5 separate regions of the Homo sapiens genome follow, and all the other regions are linked to region 4. Evidence: promoter capture Hi-C in 16 types of primary human blood cells and fetal thymus (Javierre and others, 2016). All regions are on one chromosome and are shown on one strand. Each heading gives the region's core, a stretch centred on a gene start or on the middle of the fragment in contact. The rest is flanking DNA. Distances are from core to core; before and after follow the strand shown.

Region 1 (2,700 bases), core at 79-2,578, 580 kb before region 4:
GTTTGGTTTCTTTCAACCTACTGCTTTTTGAAGGCTCAGGGCCAAAAGAAAAGGAAAGTAGAATGATAGGGATTTTGTTATTTACTATACTTAACTGAATAAGTCTGCAGATGTCTGGAACTATCCTGTATAAAACATCCTATTCACCAGTTCCTAAGAGACCCTCAAAGAGACAATTCGAGTTTAACGCATAAAATATCAAAGTGGGCCAGACGCAGTGGCTCACGCCTATAATCCCAGCACTTTGGGAGGCAGAGGCAGATGGATCACTTGAGGTTAGGAGTTTGAGACCAGCCTGGCCAACATGGTGAAACCCTGTCTCTACTAAAAATACAAAAATTAGCTGTGCATGGTGGTGGGTGCCTGTAACCCGAGCTACTTGGGAGGCTGAGCCAGGAAAATGGCTTGAACCCAAGAGGCAGAGGTTGCAGTGAGCCAAGATTGTGCCACTGCAGTCCAGCCTGGGCAACAGAGTGAGACTCCGTCTCAAAAAAAAAAAAAAAAAAAAAAAGAAAAAGAAAAAAAGAAAAAAATGTCAAAGTGAAGATTTGAAATCTGTTCACAGCAATACAGATATGGTTGAGAATTTTGCATTGATAGGGTACTTTGAGGTCCACTCTGCAAAATATTATTTGTAAATTATTTTGTTTGCTAGTTAGCCAAAGGTGTGAAACCTGGTGTTAAAATTGTGATCTTGGCTTGGTGCGGTGGCTCACGCTTCTAATCCCAATACTTTGGGAGGCCGAGGCAAGTGGATCACCCGAGGTCAGGAGTTTGAGACCAGCCTGGACAACATGACAAAACCCATCTCTACTAAAAACACAAAGTTTGGCTGGGTGTGCTGGCAGGCGCCTGTAATCCCAGCTACTCAGGAGGCTGAGGCAGAAGAATCGCTTGAACCTGGGAGTCGGAGATCGCACCACTGCGCTCCAGACTGAGAGACAGCAAGACTCCATCTCAAAAAAAAAAAAATGGTGATCTCTCTGTGATGTAGGGTCCTGACTAGAGTGACTACTGCACACCACATATAAATTATTCCTACTTATAGTTAAGGTGCCAAAGACTGGTGTTAATTTGATTTTTAAATAAATTGGAATTAATTAAAAATTATCTTAAAGTCACTCGGAAACACTTGCATCCTAAGTGGGAGAGAAAGTGATGGCCATTCTCCTGATAAGTCCTGCCTGCCTCCAGGCCTTTGCTCAAGCTGTTTCCTCTACTAGGAGTGCTGTTCTCACAGCTGGTTCCTATTCTTCCTCCAGTTCTTGGGTTCTGTGCCACCCACTTAGAGAGGCCTCCCTTGAGCACACTACCTAAGGAGAGCCCCTCCCTTTTATTCTTTATCTCAGTCTCTTGTTTCCTTTATAGCCCATGCACATTTAATTTTATTAATTTTCTGCATGTGTTTAGTTTTTAGAATTTTAACAGCTTTATTGAGATATAATTCACACACCATACAGTTTGCACATTTAAAATATACAATTTAATAGTTTTTAGTTTATTCACAGATACATGCAACCATCATCATAATGGTTGGCAATTTTCATCGGGTAAAAAAGAAATCCTGTACCCTTTAGCTATCACCCCATCATACATCCATCACCTCTCCATCCCTAAGCAACCACAAATCTACTTCCTGTCTCTGTAGATTTCCCTTTTCCAGACTTTCATATGAATAAAATCATATACTATGAGGTCTTTTGTATCTGGTTTCTTTAACTTAGCCTCATGTTTTTAATGTTCATCAGTGTTGTAGCATGTATCAGAACTTTATCCCTTTTTATGGCTTAATAATATTTCACCATATGGTTATAGTGTGTTTTGTTTATCCATTTGTCCATTGATGGACATTTGGGTTGTTTATATTTTTTGTCTATTATGAATAATGCTGCTTTAAGAATTTGTGTACAAGTTTTTATGTGAACATGTGTTTTCTTTTCTCTGTATCCTGTATCTAAAAGTGGGCTTGCTGAGTTGCTTATATATATTTTTGGATGTCTCATTTACTACAGTAGAAACTCCATAAGAACAGGGACCACATCTGCCTTGTCACTCTTACTGCCACAGTACCTGGCATTCTACCTTACAAAGTAGGTGATTTGTTAGTAACTTGGTGAACTTTTCGGTAAACTAACATGCATTGCACCTACCAGACATCTGGCATGGTGCTGGATGCCTATATTAGATATGGCCTGAAGGAGTTACTGTGCCAGAAATGTCAGCCCCAGCACCAACATCCTCACACTTACTAAGGGAACTAACCCGGAGACCCACCTGCCTATTTCACACCACATAACTTAGCTCCCACAGCAAGACTTCACCCTTGAGCCATAACAGATTAGCCCAAAGGTGGGCAACCAGCACAAATGTAGCCTATTACAAACTGGTCAGTGTCCTTTGAGGTACAGCAAAAAGCTCTACCCAAACAGGGAATTACCAAGCCTATCATGTCTTGTTTTTAATAATCCTGAACCTAGTAATTTGAATATATAAGAAGTAGGTAAGACTTAGTGGGAGTAGTTTACAGGTCATTGGCGGAGGGAAGCTGGTAGGTCAAGATGATCGTGGAAGTTATACACAACCAGAATGATGAGAAAGCAGGACCCGGAAGATAAAAAATGTACTTATAGAATGAAGACGAGCAGCCAGAGAGAAGGAGTATCTGGGTCAAGGTGATGACAAGCCAATGACAAACTGTAT
Region 2 (2,744 bases), core at 112-2,611, 600 kb before region 4:
ATATTCAAAATATAGGATAGGCATTTTTAACCCCAAAGTATATTGAGAAGTAAAATTAATGTTGGAGATTAGTACATTACACACCTCATCAAGCAGGAAGAGACAAGAAAGCATATAAATGCGACACAATTCTGGGGCAACTCCTGTCTTCAAAACTTATTTGCTTCAGCTATAGCCGCTGAGGCCTTACTCCTTTTCCTGCCTGTCTTGAAAGATTGTTCTATGCGGCCACCCAGATTTCTTGGGATCTGATGCTAGACCTTGGAGGAAGTCAGGTAAAGCTTTCTAGCTCTGCCTCAGTTGGACCATGTCTCTCCCCTGTCTCTGGTTTCTTGGGCTACTTTGATTTCACTTTCTGTGTTATGGAAACCTCTGGCAGTAACTGTTCCCTGTGTGCCTTACACTTCAATTGAGATGCACAATTGCCAAAGCTCTCTCTGATACCACCAGGGAGCAGCGAACTTAATTCTTCTGTCTTTGATCTCTCTCTTGTTTTGCTGTTTCTCCCCTGACAAGAGGCTGAGCTGCTTTGGGGGCCACCAAGGGCCATTCTCTCCACTTTGTCCTTCACTATATCACATCCCCATATGTCTTCCTATAGTCACCTGCTGGCGTGATTCCATTTTGTTTGTTGAATTTGACTAAAGGTGTCTTGAGCTTAGGAGTCATATCAGCCTGCCCACAAAAGTGTCCCATTTCACTGGGCAAATCAACTAGAATGTTGTTGTATTTACTCTGTGGACTTAGGAAGGGATCCTCTGGGAATTAGCCCCATGGGGTTTCTGTCACCTCCCATTCTACTTTGGCTTAGACAAGGTATCTGAGTTCAGAACCTGACTCTGTTCCTGCGCTCAGCTTTACAGACAAGTGGTATTATTTTTAGCCTGCAGACCTTTTAGTTAACACCCTGCTGCATTGAGGGTGTGAGAGAGAAGTGCTTTGGAAATCAGACTCTGTTACTGATAGCTTGTCCTAAACTGAAAAGGCGACAGGAGAAAGGATGCTTTGTGTTCAAGCAGAAGAAATCTCCGATGCTGCAGCTGCTGCTGCAGCCTTCCCCTGTGTTTCTCACCTTGCTGCGGCCTGCTGTTTGGCAGGACGACTTGACTGGCTGCGCTGTGGTTTCTGCGCCTGTGATGGCTCCTTCTGAATGCCCTCTGAGCCCTGGGGGTCTTATCAGCTGGCTGCGGCGGGGGTGGGAGATGAACAGCTCCCTTGTCAAGCCCGCTTTCTCCTTCTCCTGGGAACCCCTGCCGGGTCACCAGCCTAAACCCCCTCTAGCACCCCATGGCCTCTTGCTTGGGGTGTCAGAGTCAGAGAGAGTAAGGAGGTGTTGGGAGATGAAGTTCAGAGGGTAAAATGATACCGCAGGAGGAACCAGGCTTATGCGAGCTTTATAGTCGGCTGAAAAAGAGAATGTGGTAAAGATCAGGTGGCCCGTTTCAAAATGGCTGGAACTTTTACTTAATACTTTACAAGGTGCGCCCCTGCCCCAAAGTATAGGTGGAAATAAACCTCTGCTTTAAAATCTCAACAGAAAAATCAGATCAAAGAAATCTGGTGAAATACCTTTGATTAAATGTAACACACAATTGATCTCAATTCCATAGCTGATTATTAATTTTTAATTAGGAGTAAGATACAGGCACCATGATGTGTAGATTTTGTTGTCTAAGAAAGAAGATGAATAGAAGATAATATGTTTTAACTTTTTTTTTCCACCAAGTTTTAAAGTTCTAAGACTGCTGGCAATTTTCAATGAATATATGGGGTCTCCATCACTGGCCATTTTATGGGCAAAACAGCAAAACACAAATAGGTTTAATGCTGAGCTCCCAGCCCTTATCTTTGCTTCTCCCCCTCCATTTCCACCAGTCAGGTGTCTAGAAAAGAAGGGCATCCTGGTTGGGAGGAATTGGTTGTGGGGAGGATTTGGCCATGATCAGAGTAGGTACTGCTTCAGACCGAGCTGGGGCATTTTAAAACTGAGGCAGAAGAAGCCATACTTTAGGGGTCCGGGGAAAGAAAGTAGGACTAGGATGGCTCCACAATTCCTCTGCTGATCCTCTCAGAGACTTAGCTTTGCTTAGAAGCATTCCCTGGTAACCAGCATCTATTGCTGTCTTTACTTAGCATTTAAATGCCCCCAGTCTGGCAATGTCAGTTATCTCAGAGCCAAGACAGAATAATTTTGTGGTAGAAATCAAAGAATTTTCAGTGTAACATCTAGGGCAGGATTTGTGCCTCTTTTGCAGTGGATGGCCTTTTCCCCTCTTGACAGAATTCTGTTAGAGCCTCACATTGTTGAGATATCCCCCTCATCTCCATTCTACAGAGTGTTAATGCTGCTGGAAGACTGTCTGTTAAAATCAGATTCCCATCAGGCTTTGAATGCTCCCTACCAAATGGCGTAGCTGCCTTTGATCTGTAGTCTCACTTAAGGAAGCTTTTCAAGTGCATGGAAAATGTCTTGACCCCAGTGTTTGGACCTGTCACTGCTTGCACACCAAATCAAGGTATCATCAAGCTGAAAACGTACACCTAGAGGAATTCCTGCTATTTAATGGGCTCAGCCATTCCTGCTGTATTGATGGCAGTCTCAGCTCAGCTCTCCCTCTGGGGGCTCCGAAGACCCTAGAGTTATGTTCCTCCCAGCAGCAAACCTCTGAGGCTTGGTGTGGCTCAAAGACAGAGTCAGAGCTGCTTTGTCATCTGTGATTCTGTGGGTTGGAGGAGTAGTCAGA
Region 3 (2,783 bases), core at 56-2,555, 560 kb before region 4:
GCTTAGTGCAAACTAGGACCTGGAGGAGGGGTATCTCTGCTTCCAAGGCATCACCTTCCAACATCTCCTTTCTCAAGGCTCTTTGGACAAGACATCTTGCTGGGAATCCTTGATGTGAGTTAAAAGCATTTAACATAGTCCTTCTTCTCCCTTGCTCTTCAAAAGTGTTCAGTAGGAGTAAATTCCCTTGGACCCCACCACTATCATAGTCCTATGAAGAAAATATTGGTTGGTAAATCTTAGCCAGCATTTTCCCATGTGTGCTGAATGAAACCACCAACTCCACAAGGTGCTCTGTGTAAATGTGAGAAATGTATACTCTACCCTCTTTGTGAAGTTTTACAATGAAATGAGCATTTGGTTTTGAAATATCCTGCCAAAGTAGAGAGTCCACTTTTACCATAGTCTCTTACCTTTTCATAATAAATTTATAGCACTGGACTTGGTAAATTAACATATAAGGTTATTAACCTTTTCAGCCAACCCTTTGTATGTAATTCCTTTGGAAATTCATCCACCATCGCTTAATTTTATCTTAAACTTTCTGGTTTGGTTTTGTTTTTTGAGACAGGGTCTTGCTGCTGCCCAGGCTGGAGTACAGTGGCATAATTATAGCTAACTGCAGCCTTGAACTCCTGGGCTCAAGCAATCCTCCCATCTCAGCCTCCCAAGTAGATGAGACTACAGGTGCACACCACCACAGCTGGCTAATTTTAGTATTTTTTCTTTTTTTGAGCCAGGAGTTTTGCCTAGGGTGGTCTCAAACTCCTGGGCTCAAGCTATCCCCCCTCCTTGGCCTCCCAAAGTGTTGGGATTACAGGGGTGAACATGCTGTAATCTCCCTCCTTATCTCAAACTTTCAATCATCCCATGTATTTGCTTCCACTGGTATTTTAAGACCAAGTTCTGGAAGCACCTTTATATTAATGTAGGAGGAGTCCATGTTCTGATGGGCCCCATGAAGTTTGCATGAAATGAGCAAGTGTCTTTAAGCACTTACCTTCAAGAGACTAACGGATTAGAGAAGGAGTTAGGTGTCCCAGCATCTAAGGCAATATCCTGTGCTGAGTGTCTAACTCCTGGGGTTTGCAGTGGCAGTACAAAGAGAGGACTGGCCAGATAAACCTGGAAAGTAAGGAAGCGGCCTAAGTCCAGGAGGGGGTGGATGAAGAGTGTACTGGTGTCTTTCATTTTCCTTCAAGACCTCCACTCCATCTCTTTCTCTCTGCTCCCCGTCCTGTAGACTGACCTATAGGGACTATCAAGAGATCCCCACCCTTCCCTCCAGATTTTAGTTGGGCTTGGGCAATTGGGAGCACTGCAGTTACTAGACAGAAGGAGGAGAATGCAAGCAGGGATTTCTTTCTCTCCCTATAGGATTTCCATAGGCTGGAAACATGACTCTTCTGAAGGTCAAGGTTCCTGCCAAGCAGCCCTATCCACACAGATCTGTCCCTGGATTTCAGTAATGAATCTAGGGATGGGACGCTGGTAGCCCTGATGTTACTTGCCCTCTCCACTAGCCACACCTGTGTAAACAGTTCCTGTATTAAACTCTCAAACTACTCAGTTTTGAGTGTGCCATCAATTCTGTTGGGGACCTCATTGATACAAGGAGTATCCCTACCTAAGTGAACGATGTGTGCAAAGAACTGAAGTGGCCTGGTGCTTGAAGGGGGCTCCATCTCAAAAATAGTTTGTTATGGCAGGATGATGCCGCAGTAGGAGAGTTCATGAGGCCGATCACTCTTGCCGATGCCCACGGAGTGCTCTGGGGATCCAGGGCTCCCAGGCCTCATCGCATTTAGTCCCCACTGAGTAAGGAGACATATTATCATTCCATTTTGTAGGTAAAAGATCCAGGCTTATGGAGGTTAAGTAACTTGGCCAAGGTTGCACTGCAAGAAGGGGTGGAGCTGCGTGGGGACTGAGAGTCCCTACTCTCCTCCGTGCTAAGACATTAAACTGGATTCCACAGGCAGCGCATGTTTGCCTGCCTTTCCTGCTCACTCAGCCTTAGCTTTTGCTGTAAAACTCTCACGTCCCACAAAAGAACATTGACCTTTCCAATATTCCCTTTCCTCGTAACTATGTGTCATTAAACTGAAGTGTTTCTTTAAAAGACATTAGAGCAGAATTAGTATGGCATGACCTTTCCTTATGCTTCCTGATAAAATTAAACTCAAACCTGGGTGACCGAAGGAAACCCTGGGAAGGTAAATGCAGTCTTGAAGATGGTTCCTTTCAGGCAGGGTGGCTGCCTGTGCATCCCTTGATATATGCTCGTCTTCTCGGAACCATGCAGAGAGAGCTGCCTGTGACCTGATTTGGCTTCATAGGAAACAGCAACCTGCGTCATCCATTGGGTCACAGATCAGAGTTACACGATGAAATGAAACAGGTGGAATGTGGTGTTCAATCCATGGTATTCTGAACCCACCATGGACAGCTGACACTCACATTCCCAAAGGGAATGCAAAGTTTTGCATGTTGCCCTGCTCAGGGCATCTCCGCCTGGAATCGGTAGAGTTTTGGCCCTGAGAGATATTAATCTATTGTCCAAAAAACAGGAACTCCCTAAAGAGAGCCAAAAATAAGAACCATACCCAGGACTGATGAATTCTTTTCTGTGATATTGGTGGACAGGTTAGCAGGAGAAAAGGAAGGGGAAATGTTCATAGTACACAAAGTATAAGCATCATCTCTTAGTTAAAAAAAAAAAAAAACAGGAAAGGTTTTGAGTTCTATTCATGTAAATAAAAGGCACTAAGAATCTTGGGAAA
Region 4 (2,770 bases), core at 218-2,717:
AGTAAGTGGTGCCTGTTCAGGGCTGGAGTTAAGTTTGAGCCCCTCTTTCCACACCGTGTCCCTTGATACAACAGCAAGACCTGGCCTGAATAGAGCTGAGAAACTCGTTTAAAACAGGCAGAAGGGGGCTGGGGCAAGGGGGACCCTGTGGGAGGAGAAAGAGAGAAGCACAGAGGGACCAGGAAGGCATGGGGGGGGGTGAGGGAGCAGCTGGTGTTTCTGTTCCTCCAAATATCTGGGCTTCCTGCTCCCCCAACCCTGGAGGGTGGGGTGAGGATGAAATTAGATACAAGGAACTCTGGGGCCCTCTGGCTGTTCAATCCAACCCTCCCATCCCCCAAACCACCAAAAACAAAAAGGAAAGAAAACCCACAGGGGCACAAGCACACCCCTAAAACTCAGAAAACTCCTTGGCACACTTCTCATTGATGGAGATCCGGAGCTCTTCCTCCTCGTAGTCGTCAAAGTTACTGGCATCCCCAGGGCCTGTGTACTTCGGGATGAAGGGAGCTTCCACCTTCTTCTCATAGATGGCGATCCAGCTGGTTGTGGCGAACCACTTGTGGTTCTTGATGTCGCCAACCCCGTTCCTGAGGTTTCCGAAGCGCTTGGTGAGGTCCACCTGCAGCAGGCTCCGCAGCAGATGCTTGAGGTCAGAGCTGAGTTTGGAGGGAAACCGCACCCTCCCAGAGACGATCTTCTCGTAGATCTGGATGGGCTGGTCGGCGTAGAAGGGTGGGAAGCCCACGGCCATCTCATAGATGAGCACCCCTAGGGCCCACCAGTCCACGGCCTTGTTGTAGCCTTTGCTCAGGATGATCTCGGGGGCCAGGTACTCTGGGGTCCCGCACAAGGTCCAAGTGCGGCCCTTCACGCGCTTGGCGAAACCGAAGTCCGTCACCTGCAGGTAGCCCTGCTGGTCGATGAGGAGATTCTCGGGCTTCAGGTCGCGGTGGATGAGGTCGAGCGAGTGTAGGTACTGGACGGCCAGGACGACCTGGGCGGCATAGAAACAGGCATGGGGCTCGCTAAACCTTCCGACGCGCTGTAGGCGGGAGAACATCTCCCCACCCGGCACGTACTCCATCACCAGGTACAGGTAGGAGTTGTCCTTAAAGGAGAACTGGAGCTTGACGAGGAACGGAAAGTCGATCGCCTGCAGGATGCGCTTCTCGTTCAGTATGTGCTCGACCTGCTTCATCTTCACCACCTTCTGCTTGTTGAGGATCTTCATGGCGTAGTGGCCGCCGGTCTCCTGGTGCCTCACCAGCATCACCCGCCCGAAGGAGCCCATGCCCAGCGTCCTGAGCCGTTCGAACTGATCCGAGCTGGCGGTGTTTTGAGCGGGGTTTCCCCATCTGTAGAGGAAATCTCCTCTGGCTTTGGCTAGGAACTCGTTCACGCTCTCCTCCTGCTCGGTGTCCTTCTTGGCGGGGGCGTTGCCCATGGCGGTGGCGGCGGCAGGGGCGGGGGTCTCGCGGCGGCGGCGGCGGCGGCGGCAGCGGCGGAGATGGCGCCCCCTGGGGCTGGCTGCGCTGGCTGCGGCGCTGCGACCCCCGCCCGGCCTCCGCTTATATTCCCAGCTACATGGGAGGCTGAGATGGGAGGATTTCTTGAGCCTGGGAGGTCAAGGCTTCAGTGAGCCAAGATCACGCCGCTGCACTCAACAATATGGATAAATCCAAAAGGCATTATGCAAGTGAGAGAAGCCAACTCTAAAGGAGACTTACTGTATGAATCCATTTCTATGACATTCCAGAAAAGGCAAAACTATAGTGTGAGAGAACAGATCAGTGATTGCCAGGGCTTGGGGTTAGGGGACGGTTGGACTATGAAGGGACAGCCTGAGGGAATGTGGGAAGTGGTGGGACATGTTTGTATCCTGATTGTGCTGGTGGTTACAATGTATTGGGTGGTGGTCTACATTTGTTTTAAAACTCATAGAACTGGCCGGGCGCAGTGGCTAAAGCCTGTAATCCCAACACTTTGGGAGGCCGAGGCGGGCGGATCACAAGGTCAGGAGTTCGAAACCAGCCTGACCACCATAGTGAAACCCCGTCTCTACTAAAAATACAAAAAAATTAGCCAGGCGTGGTGGCGCATGCCTGTAATCCCAGCTACTCGGGAGGCTGAGGCAGGAGAATTGCTTGAACCTGGGAGGCAGAGGTTGCAGTGAGCAGAGATCGTGCCACTGCACACCAGCCTGGGCAATAAGAGTGAAACTCCATCTCAAAAACAAACAAACAAACAAACAAACACCTCAAAGAACTGTATACTTCCCCCCAAAATTCAGTTTTACTGCATGTAATGTTTTATTTTAACACATACATATGATTTCCTTTCTTCTGTTTGCTTTGGGTTTAATTGCTCTTATTTCCTAAGGTGGGAACTAAGGTCACTGATTTGAAATCTTTCTTCTATTACAATCACTTAGTGCTATAAATTTCCTCCTAAGTATTATTTTTTGCAGCATCCCACAAATTTTGGTATGTTGTATTTTCCTTTTCATCCAGCTCAAAATATTTTCTAAGCTCCCTTTTCATCTTCTTTGACAGATAAGCTATTTAAAAGTATATTATTTCGTTTCCAAATACTTGGGGATTTTTCAAGAATTTTCCTATTGATTTCTGATTTAATTCCATTGTTAGAAAACATACTCTGTGTGACCTAAAATGTTTTACACTTCTTGGGGCTCATTTTATGGCCCAGAATATGATCTATCTTGGTAGATGGCCCATATGCACTTGAGAAGAATGTATATTCTGGTGTA
Region 5 (2,827 bases), core at 163-2,662, 530 kb before region 4:
TCTTTATTGATATATAATTCATATACCAGATGGTTCTCTCATTTAAAGGGCACACTTCAACAGTTTCTAGTATATTTACAGAATTGTGCAGTTATCACCACAACCAATTCAGAACACTTTCATCACCCCAGAAAAGAAATGTTGTGCTCTTTAGCTGTCATCTTCCTCCCAACATCCCTCCAACCCACAGCCCCTGGCAACCCCTGATCTTTCTGTCTCTATGGATTCGCCTATTTGGGACATTTTGTATAAATGGAATCATATAATACAAGGTCCTTTATGACTAGCTTCTTTCACTTATTGTAATATTTTCAGGGTTCATCCACTTTGTACCATATATCAGTACTTATTCCTTTTATTACCAAGTAATATTCTATCACGTGGATGTACCACAGTTTGTTTATCCATCCATTTGCTGTTGGATGTGTGAGGTATTTCCACTTTTTGACTATAATGCTGCTGTGGACATCCATCTACAAGTTTTTGTGCAGAGATAGGTTTTCAATTCTCCTGGGTACATACTTAGGAGCGGAATTGCTGGGTCAAATGGTATCTCTATGTTTAACCCTTAAAGGAACTGCCATATGGTCTTCGTAAGCAATTGCACCACTTGACATTCCTGCCAACAGTATATGAGGGTTCCAGTTTCTCCACACCTTTGCTAACCCTTGTTATTATGTCTTTGTGATTTAAAAATACTGTTATTTTAAAACAACCTACTATATTATGGATTATTTTTAAATTAAGATAGAAGGAGATTTGATTTCTATAAGGAGAAACAGAACTATATCTCTCTGTTAGCAAAGCTCAGAGGAGACATAATACTGCCAAGTGTCTGCTTCCTACAGGAGGCAGGTTGTTGTGGTTCTCTTCAGTATTCTCTTGTGTTGGAGTCAGATAGACACAGGATTGAAAGCTGGCCTTGTCACTGCCTAGATTTGTGATTTTAGGCATATTATTTAACTTCTTTGAACCTCATCTTGAGGGGAGGAGCTAGTGATAATTATCACACATGCATCATGGGGAAAGTTTGAAGAGAAAGTCATGTGAAGCCTCAGGTACAGCGGCAAGTACCTAATTGATGCTCAAGAAATATCAGTTCCCTCCCCTTGACCAGAATCCTTAATTTGATTGAATATCAGTTCAAGAAAAGGATACAACTATTCTCTCTCTCTCTCTCTCTGTGTCACACGCACATACACACACACACACACACACACACACACACACACAAATCAGGTGTATATTTTTAAAAGTAATAATCAGTGTGCCCTAGGGTTAGAAAACCCTCACCCAACTCTTCTATTTATTCTATTTTAAAAGTACTTTGCAGTAAAATTTGAGGCTCAGATTGATGATCCCAAGGTAGTGGGAGATTCCCAGTTGTCTCTTGTTTGGGTTAAATTCTACTTACTTAAAAAAAAAGTAGATAGCAGAAATAATTTTCAACAATGAATTGTTAAAATTTGTGCTGTTCCCGTTTTATACAGAAATTCTCTTCAAGAGCAGCTTTCTGCTCCAGAGCACCCAAGGCAACCTTGGTGCCATTGTAAATCGTGTGAGCAATGGTTGGGTGTGCAGGCTTGAAGTCAGAAAGTTTTGGGTTTGAGCCTCAACTCTGCCACCTCCTTGCTGGGTTATCTTAGGCAAGCTATTCAACCCCCCTACACCTGCATTTTTAAAATCTGTGAAATAGGAATAATAATTGTGGCTGTCTCATATAAGCGTTTGGGAGAATTAAGTGAGATGACACTTATAAAATCCTGGCACATAACAAATGATAACAATTGGTTAAATAAAATTATTTATGTTTTAAAAAAAGCATCCTTGGGAAAGACTGTAGCATTGAATGAACCAGATATGATAAGAAAAGCAGAAAAAAAACACACAATTTTGCAGTGTCACATAAAGATTTGAGAAGGCCCCTTCAGTTTCTAAGTCATCTGGGAATTGATTCAAACTCATATTTCTCCCCCTCTCCCATCCCCCAGCACACACACTCTGCTTTAGAAAGCGAAAGGTTTTTTAAGGCAGCTTGGTCTCCTTTATGTCCTTGACCTGAGGTCAGAGTCAGGAAATAAACCATGGAAAAAAATCCTGTTTCACATACATCTCCAGAGATAAAGTAGAAATGCTTCTCCATCCAAAATGAAATTAAAATCCTGTTCTGGTGATAACCACCCCACTACTGCCAACCCTGCTGCTGTGGAAACGTTCAGTGAAGGCTATCCTGCCTGGCTTTATGGGACCATTCAAGGAGCAAGAAGGAAACCCTGAAGTTCTCAACCCCTGACATGATTTCCCAGGGACCTCCCTGGCCTCAATGTGGCATGTTTGGTTTCATGGGATTTACTATGGCTGCCTCCAAGTGTCTGATGCATGTGTGACCTCGGATGCCAAGAGAAAAATTGATGTGTGCTTTCCACTATACAGGGCCCAAGAGAGACTCTGTTTGATTTAGAAAGCATTTTCATGAGGCATGGTTCAACAACTGCAGTTCTTCCTTCTATCTTCATGAGGATATGTCACTATTTTCAAGTGAAATCTAGTCACATGAAGGACTGACTGATGCTATTTTCTTCAAATATAAGTGGAAAAAAATAAGCCTATAGCTACAATGAGAATAGGGGAGCACTTTGATCAAATGGCTAAGTAGTTAAAGGAGTTCCCAGTTTATACCTTCTAAAGAGATAGGACAGAGAGGAGTTGTGTGATTCATGTGGGTTGCAGGGTGAGCCACTCTTTCTTCAGGGGCGACTTCATTGTGCAAACATCGAGGGTTTCCATCCATCATGCTAGGTGAGCTCTTTCTTCCCTTCACCATCGA

What was found. Contacts are between HindIII fragments. The CHiCAGO score rates a contact against its expected background, and 5 or more counts as called.
Region 1: a fragment that was not itself captured here is called in contact with the fragment with the promoter of PRKACG in region 4 in 6 of 17 cell types (total B cells, monocytes, M1 macrophages and 3 more); the score reaches 8.1 in total B cells.
Region 2: a contact is called between a fragment that was not itself captured here and the fragment with the promoter of PRKACG in region 4, in 7 of 17 cell types (M1 macrophages, monocytes, neutrophils and 4 more). The highest score is 8.1, in M1 macrophages.
Region 3: a fragment that was not itself captured here is called in contact with the fragment with the promoter of PRKACG in region 4 in 5 of 17 cell types (naive B cells, M2 macrophages, M1 macrophages and 2 more); the score reaches 7.8 in naive B cells.
Region 5: a fragment that was not itself captured here is called in contact with the fragment with the promoter of PRKACG in region 4 in 2 of 17 cell types (neutrophils and M2 macrophages); the score reaches 11.3 in neutrophils.

Annotation. Positions count from the first base shown.
Region 1 is chr9:68,433,829-68,436,528 of GRCh38, forward strand. The region is part of intron 6 of PGM5 (phosphoglucomutase 5); the gene reads left to right. Among named protein-coding and RNA genes, the nearest start is that of PGM5-AS1, 77 kb to the left of the region's middle. The HindIII fragment of the contact is 3,415 bases long and covers 1-2,700 here.
Region 2 is chr9:68,417,545-68,420,288 of GRCh38, forward strand. The region is part of intron 6 of PGM5 (phosphoglucomutase 5); the gene reads left to right. Among named protein-coding and RNA genes, the nearest start is that of PGM5-AS1, 61 kb to the left of the region's middle. The HindIII fragment of the contact is 2,165 bases long and covers 280-2,444 here.
Region 3 is chr9:68,452,795-68,455,577 of GRCh38, forward strand. All of the region lies in intron 6 of PGM5 (phosphoglucomutase 5), which reads left to right. Among named protein-coding and RNA genes, the nearest start is that of TMEM252, 87 kb to the right of the region's middle. The HindIII fragment of the contact is 7,166 bases long and covers 1-2,783 here.
Region 4 is chr9:69,012,646-69,015,415 of GRCh38, forward strand. It overlaps PRKACG (protein kinase cAMP-activated catalytic subunit gamma), which reads right to left and starts at 1,468. Exons shown (of 1, transcript NM_002732.4): 1 at 1-1,468. The coding sequence starts at 1,447. The coding sequence ends at 392. The HindIII fragment of the contact is 8,295 bases long and covers 1-2,770 here.
Region 5 is chr9:68,486,266-68,489,092 of GRCh38, forward strand. All of the region lies in intron 9 of PGM5 (phosphoglucomutase 5), which reads left to right. Among named protein-coding and RNA genes, the nearest start is that of TMEM252, 53 kb to the right of the region's middle. The HindIII fragment of the contact is 5,173 bases long and covers 1-2,827 here.